Linked DNA regions of Homo sapiens: region 2 is linked to region 1. Evidence: promoter capture Hi-C in 16 types of primary human blood cells and fetal thymus (Javierre and others, 2016). All regions are on one chromosome and are shown on one strand. The core of a region is centred on a gene start or on the middle of the fragment in contact, and the rest is flanking DNA. Distances in the headings are between cores, read along the strand shown. Region 1 holds the start of ADCY5 (adenylate cyclase 5). Region 2 overlaps POLQ (DNA polymerase theta).

What was found. Contacts are between HindIII fragments. The CHiCAGO score rates a contact against its expected background, and 5 or more counts as called.
Region 2: a fragment that was not itself captured here is called in contact with the fragment with the promoter of ADCY5 in region 1 in 1 of 17 cell types (monocytes); the score reaches 5.7 in monocytes.

What each region holds. Positions count from the first base shown.
Region 1 is chr3:123,447,840-123,453,825 of GRCh38, forward strand. It overlaps ADCY5 (adenylate cyclase 5), which reads right to left and starts at 1,251. Exons shown (of 21, transcript NM_183357.3): 1 at 1-1,251. The coding sequence starts at 706. RefSeq lists an enhancer at 1-312. The HindIII fragment of the contact is 9,434 bases long and covers 1-5,654 here.
Region 2 is chr3:121,513,637-121,519,368 of GRCh38, forward strand. All of the region lies in intron 9 of POLQ (DNA polymerase theta), which reads right to left. Among named protein-coding and RNA genes, the nearest start is that of POLQ, 29 kb to the right of the region's middle. The HindIII fragment of the contact is 1,489 bases long and covers 3,264-4,752 here.

The sequences.
Region 1 (5,986 bases), core at 1-2,500:
GGAAGAAGTAGCGCTGGTACAGCCGCTCCAGTTTGTCCGACGGGAACTTCTTGGAGCGGAATATCTGCAGCAACGCCAGGCAGCAGGCGCCCAGGGACAGCACCGCGCCGGGCCCCGCGCCCGAGCCCGAGTCCGCCGAGCTGCCGCCATCCCCGGACCCCTCGCCGCCCTCGACGGCGCCGGCCTCCAGCTCGTCGGCCGCGCGCCCCTTGCCCCGCCGCTCCTCCAGACCCACCTCCACCGAGCGAGGGCGCACCTCCGTCCCGCCCGCCGAGGCAGCCGCCGCCGCCGAGCCGCCGCCGCCGCCCGCAGGGGGCGCCCGGGTGCTGCCCCCGCTGGCCGCGCCCCGCCGCTGCCGGCGGCTGCCGCGACCGCAGTCGTCGCCGCCGCGCTCCTGCCAGGCGGACTTGGAGCGGAAGCTGAAGCCGAAGCCCCCGGCCAGGGGGTCGTCACCGCTCAGCGGAGGATCGTCGTCGTCGTCGCTGCGCCAGCGGCTGGCCAGGCGCTGCTGCTGCTGCGGGGTCACCGCCCCCCCGGGTTTCTTGGTGGAGCCGCGGGCAGAGCCCCCGGGGGCATGGGGGTAGCCATTCGCGCGGGAATCGGCCTCGCCCCACGCAGAGCGGTGTTCGGGGCCTCCCCGGGGCGCCGGCGCCGCAGTCTTCTGCGCCGCGTAGCCCGGGGGGCTCACGCTTTTGGAGCCGGACATCCCCCCCTCGGCCTCGTCGTCTCCTTCCTCCTCCCCCGGAAGCCGGGCCGGGGGTCTCCAAGGGGAGGGCGGACGGCCGAGCAGGGGGACCAGGCTAGGGTCACACGTCGGGGGCGGCCCGGGGCCCTGCGCTGCAGCGGGGCATCTTGGCACCCCCGTCCTGAGCGGAGGAGGAGGGCACAGCCCCGAGGTGAGAAGTAGCTGAGGATCCGCGTCAGAAGTCCCAGGTCCGAAATGGAGTTGCCTCCGAGGTGGGGTCGCAGGGACTGGTCTGGCTGCTGCTGCGCCGCACGCGGAGAGACGTCCGGGATCCTGGCTCGCGTCGAGCTCGACGAGGGCCGGAGTTGCGGACGAGACGGGACGGAGTGGTGTCCTTGCGGGCGGTGCCTCCTCGGGCCGGCAGTGCCCGGGCGCGGCGCTCGCTGATTCCGCCTAAGCGGAGCCCAGCTGCTCTCGGGGCTCGGCGGCGGCGAGGGCGGCTCGGCGGGGGTCCCGGCGAAGAGACACTGCGGGTGCGCTTTCCTCGCAGCGGACTGGGAGCGACTGGGAGGTGCGGGCGCCAGCCAGCATTATTTTCTTACGAGGGGTGGGGAGGTGGGATGGGAGGTGGAGAGGACGGGGGAGGGGGCGACGGGCGGAGCAACAGCTCCGGAGCCCCGGGGGGGAGGGTCCTGGAGCCCGGGGGGGCCGTTGCCCGCATCCCCCACCTCTCGCGGCGAGAGTGGATGCGTGGCCCCGGCGAAAGCCGAGCCGAGCCTTCGGCGCGTCCGCGCAGGGGGCGGGGTCCGGGTCAGGGACCGGCTCCTGCGGTGCGGCCCTTCCCCTCTCGCCTCTCCCTTTCCCGCAAACGGAGCGGGGCCGGCCGGGACCTGCCGGCCCGGAGAGCTGTCGCGCCCGCTTCGCAAGCCCCAAGCTCCTCGTCGCCGGCTGCGGGCCCACCGCGGCCGGCGCGGAACGACTAGGCGGAGGACGGAATCCGGCGCAGCGCTGCCGCGGTTCTGCCCCGACGCAGGCAGGCTTCTCCCGGGGAGTAAGGCATCCAGAGATCCAGCGCCGGGGCTCAGAAGCAGCCGGCCCAGAGGGGCCCGCCTGAGAGCCGCGGCGCCCGAGAGGCGCTCCGGGGGGGCCCGCGGGAGCCCGGCTCAGGGCGCGCCATGCACGCTTCGGGCCCTGCGCCGCTCCGGCCGCTCGCGCCGCTCCTCCCTTCTCGCCCGCTCGCCGCCGCCGGAGAGCCCTCCGCATCCCCTCCTCCCGCTGCCTCCCCGCCCCCCGCGCCGCCCGGGCCTCGGCTCACAGCCGCGCGAGGCCGCCTCCGCCCCCGGCCTGGCCATGGCCCCAGCCTCGGCGCCCCGCGGGCATCCTCAGGCCTGGCCGCGGGCACCCCAGTTCCCCTTCCTCACCTAAAATTCTCGCTGCGCCCCTCCCTCCCTGGGACTAGGAGCCGCATCCAGCCTGCGGTCCCGTCACCAGACCTGGGTGGAGCGCGGTCTTCCCCCGCCCCCGGCCAGGGCTCCAGCGCCCCCAGTCCTAGCTCCCCTCTTTTGTATCCCCCTTTAATCCCCCTCCCCCCATTTAACCCAACTTCAGCCCCGGCGCTGCGCCCCCCTTCCCTGGCCCGGCTCGATTGGCCGCTTCCGGAGCTGTCAGACTACAGTCCGGCGCTCTTATTGGGCGATTCTCTGGCCCGGCGGCTGTGCCAAAGGAGGGCGCACCGGGTGGGGGGCGCCTGGGCAGCGAGTGCCTCAAGGAGAAGGAGAACAGAGTCCCTGGAGGGGTCTCAGGGGCCGGAGAGCCAGACCCGGAAATGGACAGGGGAGATGCAGAAACAGGACTTCTGAGACGCAGGAAGACAGTGATGGAAAAGATGGTGATGCAGTGGGTGAGGCCGATGCAGCCGGGGCGGGGCGGACAGGGAGGCTTTGGTGGGTAGTTACCAGGAGAAAGCCCCACAGTGAACACTGGAAACACCTGGCTTTTATAAAGCGCTCTTTGCCTGTTCGTAAAGTCTCATAAATCTCACTTGGTTCCCGTCAGTAATCCTAGGATGAGACAGAGGACAGAGACCGTGTAGCTATTCCCAGCTTATAGATGCAGAAACTGAGGCTCTGGGAGCTTATTCAACTTGCTATAGGTCACACAGGTCTACTAACTTGGCACCCAAAGGTCCTTCGTCAGCGCCAGACTGCCTCCCTAACCTAACAAGGTGTTAGCAGGAAGGATGGGCACCTGAGCAAGCTGGCGTGCCCACTTGGGGGGAAGCAGGGGAAGGGGAAAATGGCTAGATACACAGCACCAGCCACAAGAGGCAGGAATGGAGAGAAGGATTCGACTGCTAGGCAAAAAGGACGTAGGCCTGTAGAATGATGTGTCTACCCAATTCCCTTTGCCCCCAAGCTGTCCTGCTGGAGTTCTGACAGTCTAAACCCTGGAGAGGTGGGAGACCACACTCCTACCCAGCCTGGGGGTAAACAGCTTTTACTTTCCCCTTCTTCATCCTCCAACTCTCTCCCCAGAGCTTCTGACAGGGAGCCTAGAGGTCTAAGTGAGCTTCCTTCTTTGTCTCTCTCTGCTGGTCATCTCTGCAGACTGGAAGATAAACCTTGCCAGAGTTACAAATTGGGAGGAGAAAAATTCCAAGAGGTCAGAATAAACTAACCCTTGGGTAATCCAGCCTTTGAGTATTCCACTATTAGCCAAGTTGTAAAAAAAAACATGAATTTAGTCAATAAAAATTCTAGAGAACCCTCAATGTACAAAGCATTGTGCTAGTTGCTACCAGGATAGAGAGATGACCAAACTCTAGACCGGGAACAAGTCGAACAAGTCAGTGACGGAGAAGAGCTAGCCACTATCTCTAGGTCAGAGCAAAGTTCTGGGTTCAATAGAAGTGCAAACAGCACCTCGGGCATTCAGAGAGAGGGGGTGTCACTTCCCACTGTGAGGGCCAAACAAGGGCCTGGAAGTCAAACCTGGGTCTAGCAGGGAAGGATGTCTAAGAAAGGGAGGATGGACTAATTAATATTTACTAAGCAACTGTTGTATGTCTGTAAACATTTTATTGTCAGATAACTATTCTGAGGAAGGTTATCCCCACTATAAAGATGAGAAAACAGACTTAGGGAATCAAAAAGTTTGTCCAGCCAGGCATGGTGGCTCATGCCTGTAACCCCAGCACTTTGGGAGGCTGAGGCAGGCAGATCATCTGAGGTCTGGCGCTCATGACCAGCCTGGCCAACATGGTGAAACCCGTCTCTACTAAAAATACAAAAATTAGCCGGGCGTGGCGGTGTGAGCCTGTAATCCTACTCTGGAGGCTGAGGCAGGAGAATCACTTGAATCCGGGAGGTGGAGGTTGCAGTGAGCCGAGATCATGCCATTGCACTCCAGCCTGGTTGACAGAATGAGACTCTGTCTCAAAAAAAAAATAAAAAATAAAAAGGCCGGGCATGGTGGCTCACGACTCTAATCCTAGCACTTTGGGAGGCCAAGGCAGGCGGATCACGAGGTCAAGAGATCGAAACCATCCTGGCCAACGTGGTGAAACCCTGTCTCTACTAAAAATACAAAAATTAGCTAGGCGTGGTGGTGTGTGCCTGTAGTCCCAGCTACTTGGGAGGCTGAGGCAGGAGAATTGCTTGAACCCAGAAGGTGGAAGTTGCAGTGAGCCAAGGTTGCACCACTGCACTCCAGCCTGGCAACACAGCAATACTCTGTCTCAAAAAAAATAAAATAAAATTATTTATATATATATATATATATATATATGAGTTTGCCCAAAGCTCATAGTTGTAGCAGTCTGCTCGTTGTATTCTACCATGCAGCAATGTAGCAGATATGACATGGGTGGCACCCTCAAGACATAGTCAACTGCACGGACAGGGGCCACAGGGCCAGAGGTATCAAGGCTATTGATCAAGGTTCCATCCTTGATCCTCTCATCTTCTCATTCCCAGAGCTATCCCTAAGTCATTCCTCTTAATTTTATTCAATTTTTAAAAATAATTGTCTTACAACAAAAGCCATGTATGATTGATGTGGGAAAAAAATTAAAAAGAAAGAAAACACACTCATAATCATATCACCAAAGAACCAGTATTGGCCGGGCGCGGTGGCTCACGCCTATAATCCCAGTACTTTGGGAGGCTGAGGAGGGCGGATCATGAGATCAGGAGTTCGAGACCAGCCTGGCCAACATGGTGAAACCCCATCTCTACTAAAAATACAAAAATTAGGCAGGCGTGGTCATGGGCACCTGTAATCCCAGCTACTCGGGAGGCTGAGGCAGGAGAATCACTTGAACCCGGGAGGTGGAGGTTGCAGTGAGCCGAGACTGCACCATTGCACTCCAGCCTGGGTGAAAGAGCAAGACTCCATCTCAAAAAAAAAAAACCAGTATTAATATGTTAATTTTTTTCTTAAACAATAACTGGATCTTTTACTCTACAATTAGTTTTAGAGTCTACCATTTTCTACTTAGCAAAATATTGTGGATTTTTTTTCATGTCAATAAGCATCCATCTACAATATCCATTTTACTGTCCAAATTGCATGGGTATAGTATACTTTATTTAACCAATCCCCTACTGTTAGGCATTTTTCACTGTCATAGCAGTTTATAAATAAAAGTTTCCCCTCCTTTACTATTATAAACAGTGAGCATTTCTGTAGATAAATTTTCACACAAGCTGGGCACAGTGGCTCACATTGGTAATCTCAGCTACTCAGGAGGCTGAGGTGAGATGATCTCTTGAGCCCAGGAGTTCGAGGCCAGCCTAGGCAACATAGAGAGAATGCTGTCTCAAAAATAAATAAATGAATAAAAATTTACACATATCCTTAGGAAAAATTCCTACAAATAGAATTGCTGGGCCCAAGGATAAGCATGTTTTTTTCTCTAAGATATTTTTGAAATCTGTATCTTCAGCCCTTGCCTCCCTTCCCAGTTCCAAGCTTCCCTCTGGCTACTGGAGAGCTCCCCATCGATGCTCCTTGGGACTCACCAGATCCCAAATTCACTGTTTCTGAAAATAAGGTCATCTCCCAAGTAGCTTGCTCCTCACTCCCTTTTCATGCTGCTGGTGGAATTACCTTCGTCCAAACTCTGTGATCTTAAGAGTGATAATATCTCCTCTGCCTTGTCTTTTCGCATTTGTCTCTTCTTCCACATTCTCTTACCACAGCCTTCATCCCGATCATCCCCTTCCTTGCCTGGATAATTGCCAACTCTCCCTCCTTGCCCTCAAATCTGTCCTCCGCCTTGTCCTCATCTGATCTCACTCC
Region 2 (5,732 bases), core at 2,758-5,257, 1.9 Mb before region 1:
GATGTCAGCAAGATGGTGGTTTAGGAGGCTTTACTACCCCCCTCCCCAGAAGCTTCAACTAGCTTCTATCTGCAGACAAGAACACCTTTGTGAAAACCCCAAAACTGCCAGGCCCAGTGGCTTATGCCTGTAATCCCAGCATTTTGGGAGGCCAAGGAGTGTGGCTCACTTAGGTCAGGAGTTCGAGACCAGCCTAACCAACATGGTGAAACCCCGTCTCTACTAGAAATACAAAATTAGCCAGGCATGATGGCACATTCCTGTAATCTCAGCTACTTGGGAGGCTGAGGCAGGAGAATCGCTTGAGCCCTGGAGGTGGAGGTTGCAGTGAGCCGAGATTGTGCCACTGCACTCCAGCCTGGGCAACAAGAGTGAAACTCCATCTCAAAAAAAAAAAAAAAAAAAAAAGAGGCCAGGCATGGTGGCTCATGCCTGTAATTCCAGCACTGTGGGAGGCCAAGGTGGACGGATCACCTGAGGTCAGGAGTTCAAGACTAGCCTAACCAACATGGTGAAACCCCATCTCTACTAAAAATACAAAATTAGCCAGGCATGATGGCACATTCCTATAATTCCAGCTACTTGGGAGGCTGAGGCAAGAGAATCGCTTGAGCCCAGGAGGTGGAGGTTGCAGTGAACCAAGATTGCGCCATCGCACTACAGCCTGGGCAACAAGAGTAAAATTCCGTGTATTAAAAAAAAAAACAACAACAACAACAATAACCAAAAAAAAAAAAAAAAAACCCAAAACTTGGGAATAAGTCTGAAACTTATGCATAGACCACAAAACTACATAAAAATTGCAAGATATAGTAAGATAAACTATCTCACTTTGACCTCATCACCCCTTCCACTCCCCTAAGTCAGCACAGTATCACACAGAAAGGAATCCCCAGGGCTCATGGCTTCTACAGTGGGAAAAGAAAACCAGAGAACACAGAGCTTCCCTAGCATTCCAAGAGGCTTCCCAAGAAGCCAACTCCAGTCTCGCCTCACAGAGAACATGCTGGGTAACAGCATGGCTAGATCACCTGGGGTCAGGCAGAAACAAAGCAAGGAGGTAGAGCTCACGGCAACCAGCATGCAGATCTTGGTGGTAGCTCTGTGTACCTGCCAGTGGTGGTGCCCAATCAGAGGTACCAGCTAACAGCTAAACAGTGTAGCCCAGGACAAAGCCAAACTGATCACTTCTAGAAGTGGTAGGAAATTCTACCTGGCTTGAATCTTTAGATGGCCAGCCTCCAGGCCCAGCGTCAAAGCTCATGAGGACCCTGCCCAGGAAAGGAGATGACCATCACAGTGCATTCTGGAAAGAAGCAGGGGCTAGTTCTGCCAAACCTGGGATTTTAAACAGTGCTCAAGCTCAGCCTCAAGGACCTGCCCCAGGTGGAAGATGCCTATCATACTGTATTTTTGCAAAGTGCAGGGACTAGTTCTGCCAAGGGTGGAAGTTTAAACAGCCCTCAGTTCAGTCTCAAAGCCCACTCCAAGTCCCCACCTAGGCAGGGAGGCAAACCTCAGATGTGCATTTTTTTTATTTTATTTTTAGAGGTGGGATCTCTGTCACTCACATAGGAGTGCAGTGGCATGATCATAACTCACTGAAGCCTGAAACTCCTGGGCTCAAGCGATCCTTCCATCTCAGCCTCCCAAGTCACTGGGATTACAGTCATGAGCCACCATGCTCAATCATGCATTTCCACTGAGCATAGCAGCTGGCCCACTGGTCCAGAATAGCAACTCCACCTAACCTCGAGGCCCAGCCTGCAACACTGTCCAAGTACAGATCTCAAATAGGGGTACCATCTGGCCAAGGAATACACTCTGGGGCCCAGCCAAGAGGCGATTGCAGTTTCAAACCAGCAACTCTGCCTGACTGCAGAGCTCAGCTTGTGGGTTCACCTGATAGCAGAGCCCAGCCAGCAGTCCCACCCAAACTCAGAGCAAAGGCAGCAGCCCAACTATCTACAGAATCCAAAGCAAGCTTTGCCTGCTCAGGGCTGCTGCCAGTTGGCCTATTCAGAATCAAAGGCTAGACAAGTGAAGTTCTATCCCTGCCAAAGAACACCTATAAAAGCCAAAGAGGTAGCTGTCTCCTCAAATGTGCAGATACCAACACAAGAACACAGATTACAAAGAACCAGGAAGCCAAGATACCTTCAAAAGAAACTAACAAAGCTCCAACAATGAACCCTAAAGAAATGAAGATCTGTGAAATGAGAAAGAATCCAGAATAATTATCCTAAAAAAGTCCAATGAACTACAAGGATATATGGATAAAAAATTAAATAAAATTTGGAAAACAATATACAAACAAAACAAGAAGTTTGACAAAGAAATAGAAACAATAAAAAAGAAAGAGAAATCTTAGAGATGAAGAGTACAATGAGTGAACTGAAAAATGCAATCAAAGCTTTAGCAGCAGGCTCAATCAAGCAGAAGAGAGAGAGATTAGGGAGTTGGAGGGATGAGAAGATGGTCAAAGAGTACAATGTTTCAGTTAGACAGGAAGAATAAATGATAAGTATTTGGGGGTGATATGTTAACTGGCTTAATTCCATCATTTTGCATTGTATACAGATAGCATCACTCTGTGCCTCAAAAATATATACAATTATAATTTGTCAATATCCAATTTTTAAAAATCACATGAATATAACACCTGACTCTTGCAATGGCTACAAAACAGCCCAGCTTAAGAAAGAAAACACACACATATAAATTACCTAGAAAATGAATCAACTAGCATTAGCAGCAAGATAAACAAGCCACTTTGGGCTGTTTAAAGGTCTTTCGGGGCTTTGATTCTTCAACAAAATGAACTGCCCTTTTCCTGAATGGGCAAGGTTTATAAAATGTCCAAATGAACATCAGTATATATGTACAGGTTCCTGCAACCACCTGTCTAGGGAGGACTCATCCACATCACAAGAGGGAAGTTGAAATTATTTAGAATCAAATAATTTATTACTGACTGCTGAACTTACAAATCGCTATTTTGGCACCAAGCACCATCATCCTATACTAGAAGCTTCTAAGTAGTCTATGGAAAGACTGAAGTGTCATCTAAATAAAACACCATGTGCTGTCCAGGAATATAAAATGCACAGAATTTCCAATGATGCTACACGATACAAAAAGCATGACCAAGTATTTAAGTCTCCATAGTGAATATAAACCACTATATTCCTACATTCTTCATTAGCTTGAAGTTATGAGCAAGTCATATGACATCCTGAAATACAATGATATGCAAGATCAAAAGCTTGGAAGTCTTTAAGACCTCAGAAATGAACTTATTACAGTATATTTTAGTTCTGTTTGAGAGTTGTCTGATTTAAGGCTTGATAATTAGCCCAGGGCACTAACCTTCCAATTGTTCTTTCCCATAATAAATATAAGCTAAGAACATAACAAGGCAAATAAGATCTCAGCTTATTTCTTGTCTTATTTCTCCTTATCTTCTACATTAACTAAAAGACCCTCTGTCCCGAGAGACAATTATCTATGTAAAATGGACTTATACTCCATTCCCCAGAGGTGTGAGTCCACTGAAAATTGGGGATGGACAGAGGTAGGCAAATAGGAATGGGAAGGAAGAATCTCACTCTCTTCCCTCAACTCTTTTTAAGCATATACATGCAATCTGCATATTCTGTAGGTAAAGTAAGAGAGAAACAGGATAAACGTCTCTGATGTCAGCTGTAGGAAAAATCCAACAAATTGGAAGTTTTGTTTTTTTTTTTTAAATCATCAAAATTTTCAGGGCTTAAAAGAAAGGCTGACCAATGCCCTTCAGGGATTGTAAATGGGTCATTTATTACTGGTGCTGAGACTGAAAGCTGTTCCAATAGCCATGCACATCTTCTTAAGTATTAGTGGAGCACGTGGCCACCCAAGCTAAAGATTATATTTCCCAGCCTCTCTTATAGTTGGGGAATGTAATCATGTGAAAGTTCTGGCCCATTGTATGTGAAGAGAAATACTATGTGCAACTTCTGAGCAGCGGCCTTAAAGGGCAGGGCATGCTCTTTGCTTCCTCATCTTCCCTTCCTGATGGCTGAAATGCAGATGTGATGACAGAGACTGGACTGGCCATCATATACCGAGGATAGAAACTACATTGCTGAAAATGTTAAAACAAAATAGAAGACTAGGTCCCCGACACACTACAGCCATCATATAAGGCCTAAATTACAATTACATCATATAAGGCCTAGAATAGAATTTTACTGTTATATGAGAAAGAAATTAACATCTATCTTGTTAAACACTTATTGTATTGGTTTTTGTTACAGCAGTGAATTTATATTCTAACTAATCCAGATACCAATAAATTACGGTCAATTTTTGGTATTTGTGGTAGTCATGTTCTATAAAGCTGCCACGAACACAGAATACTGAACCCTTGCTGCCAAGGAAAACAGATGATTAGGTTCCTGCAAGCCTCTAGTAAAAACATTTTCATCACTTCATCAATACAAAACCTTGTTTTATGCATGTTTCTGTTTAAAGACATCTTATTTAATGTATATAGTTGTTTACATTGAGCTCCAGCCAACAGCATTATAATTCATGCCTAAAGAAAACTTATCACATATTTTCTCCATAAGGCACATCACAGCCTTAAGGCACTAGGGAACATTAGATAGCATTTCAGTACTTTGCTTGGGGGTCATGTTAAACAGCAAAATCACCAACTAAAAGCACAAAAATGTGAAAAATATGGCACTAACTAGCCCATTAAAAAGAAGCTTGTTCACAGTATAAGAGCTGAAACAAGAACGCAGAGCTTTGGCTTGTTCAACCACAGCAGGGAAAGTGTGCTTGGAAAGATTCAAATTTTTCGCAGATCTGCATATGTCCACAAAAGCCCCAGAGGTATTATTTCGGGATTCTGAATAAATTCTGTTAAGGTGGAAAATTCAAATATGGAATCCATGAATAATGAGAACTGACATATTTGGGGACTTCATGTGACAAGTCAGTTTATTCTAAAAGTTACTTCCTCAGTGTACTACCCAGCTTCCTCTGCCCAGAATATCCATTTCCCATCCACTTTCCTTATTCTCCTGGATTTCCTAATTTCTCTTCAGTAGCCACAGAACTGTTTGCCTGTTTTGTTTTTTTTTGACATATCTAATAAAATACTGGAGTCAATTATGTCCTACAGTAGAAAGATGACAATTATGTCCTAGAGTAGAAAGTGGCAGGGAATGTTCCTCCCAAGGTTCTTCAATGTTAGATGGCTGATAATGATTTAGTTACATATAATGATACAGCACGTTAGAAATAAAATTTGCTGCCGTTTTGACATTTAATTCAAACAAACCTCTTCCTTACTGCTTAAGACAAAACTTTTGTTTGGATTGCTGGTAAAAACAATCATAACTTGCTGATACAAGGTAAAAAAAAATGAAAAGGTGTTTTTTCAGAGCCAGCACCAATTTCGAGAAAAAAGATGGGATGTCAAGTTCCTATTCCCAAAGTGTGAGGGTGCATCCCAGCATCCTTGTCTGATTTCTGAGACCAGTCACCTAAGTTGAATTAACATCTGTGAAAATTAATTAGTGCTAAAGAGTAGACTACACCTAGAAATTAAAAATCATCTTCCAGCTAAGTAATAAGAAGTCATCTTGATTTACATAATACTAAATCATTTTATTGTATACAATACGAAAGAAAAACTTAATTCAACATTTGTAGAAAATCAACAGTTGATGATATATATA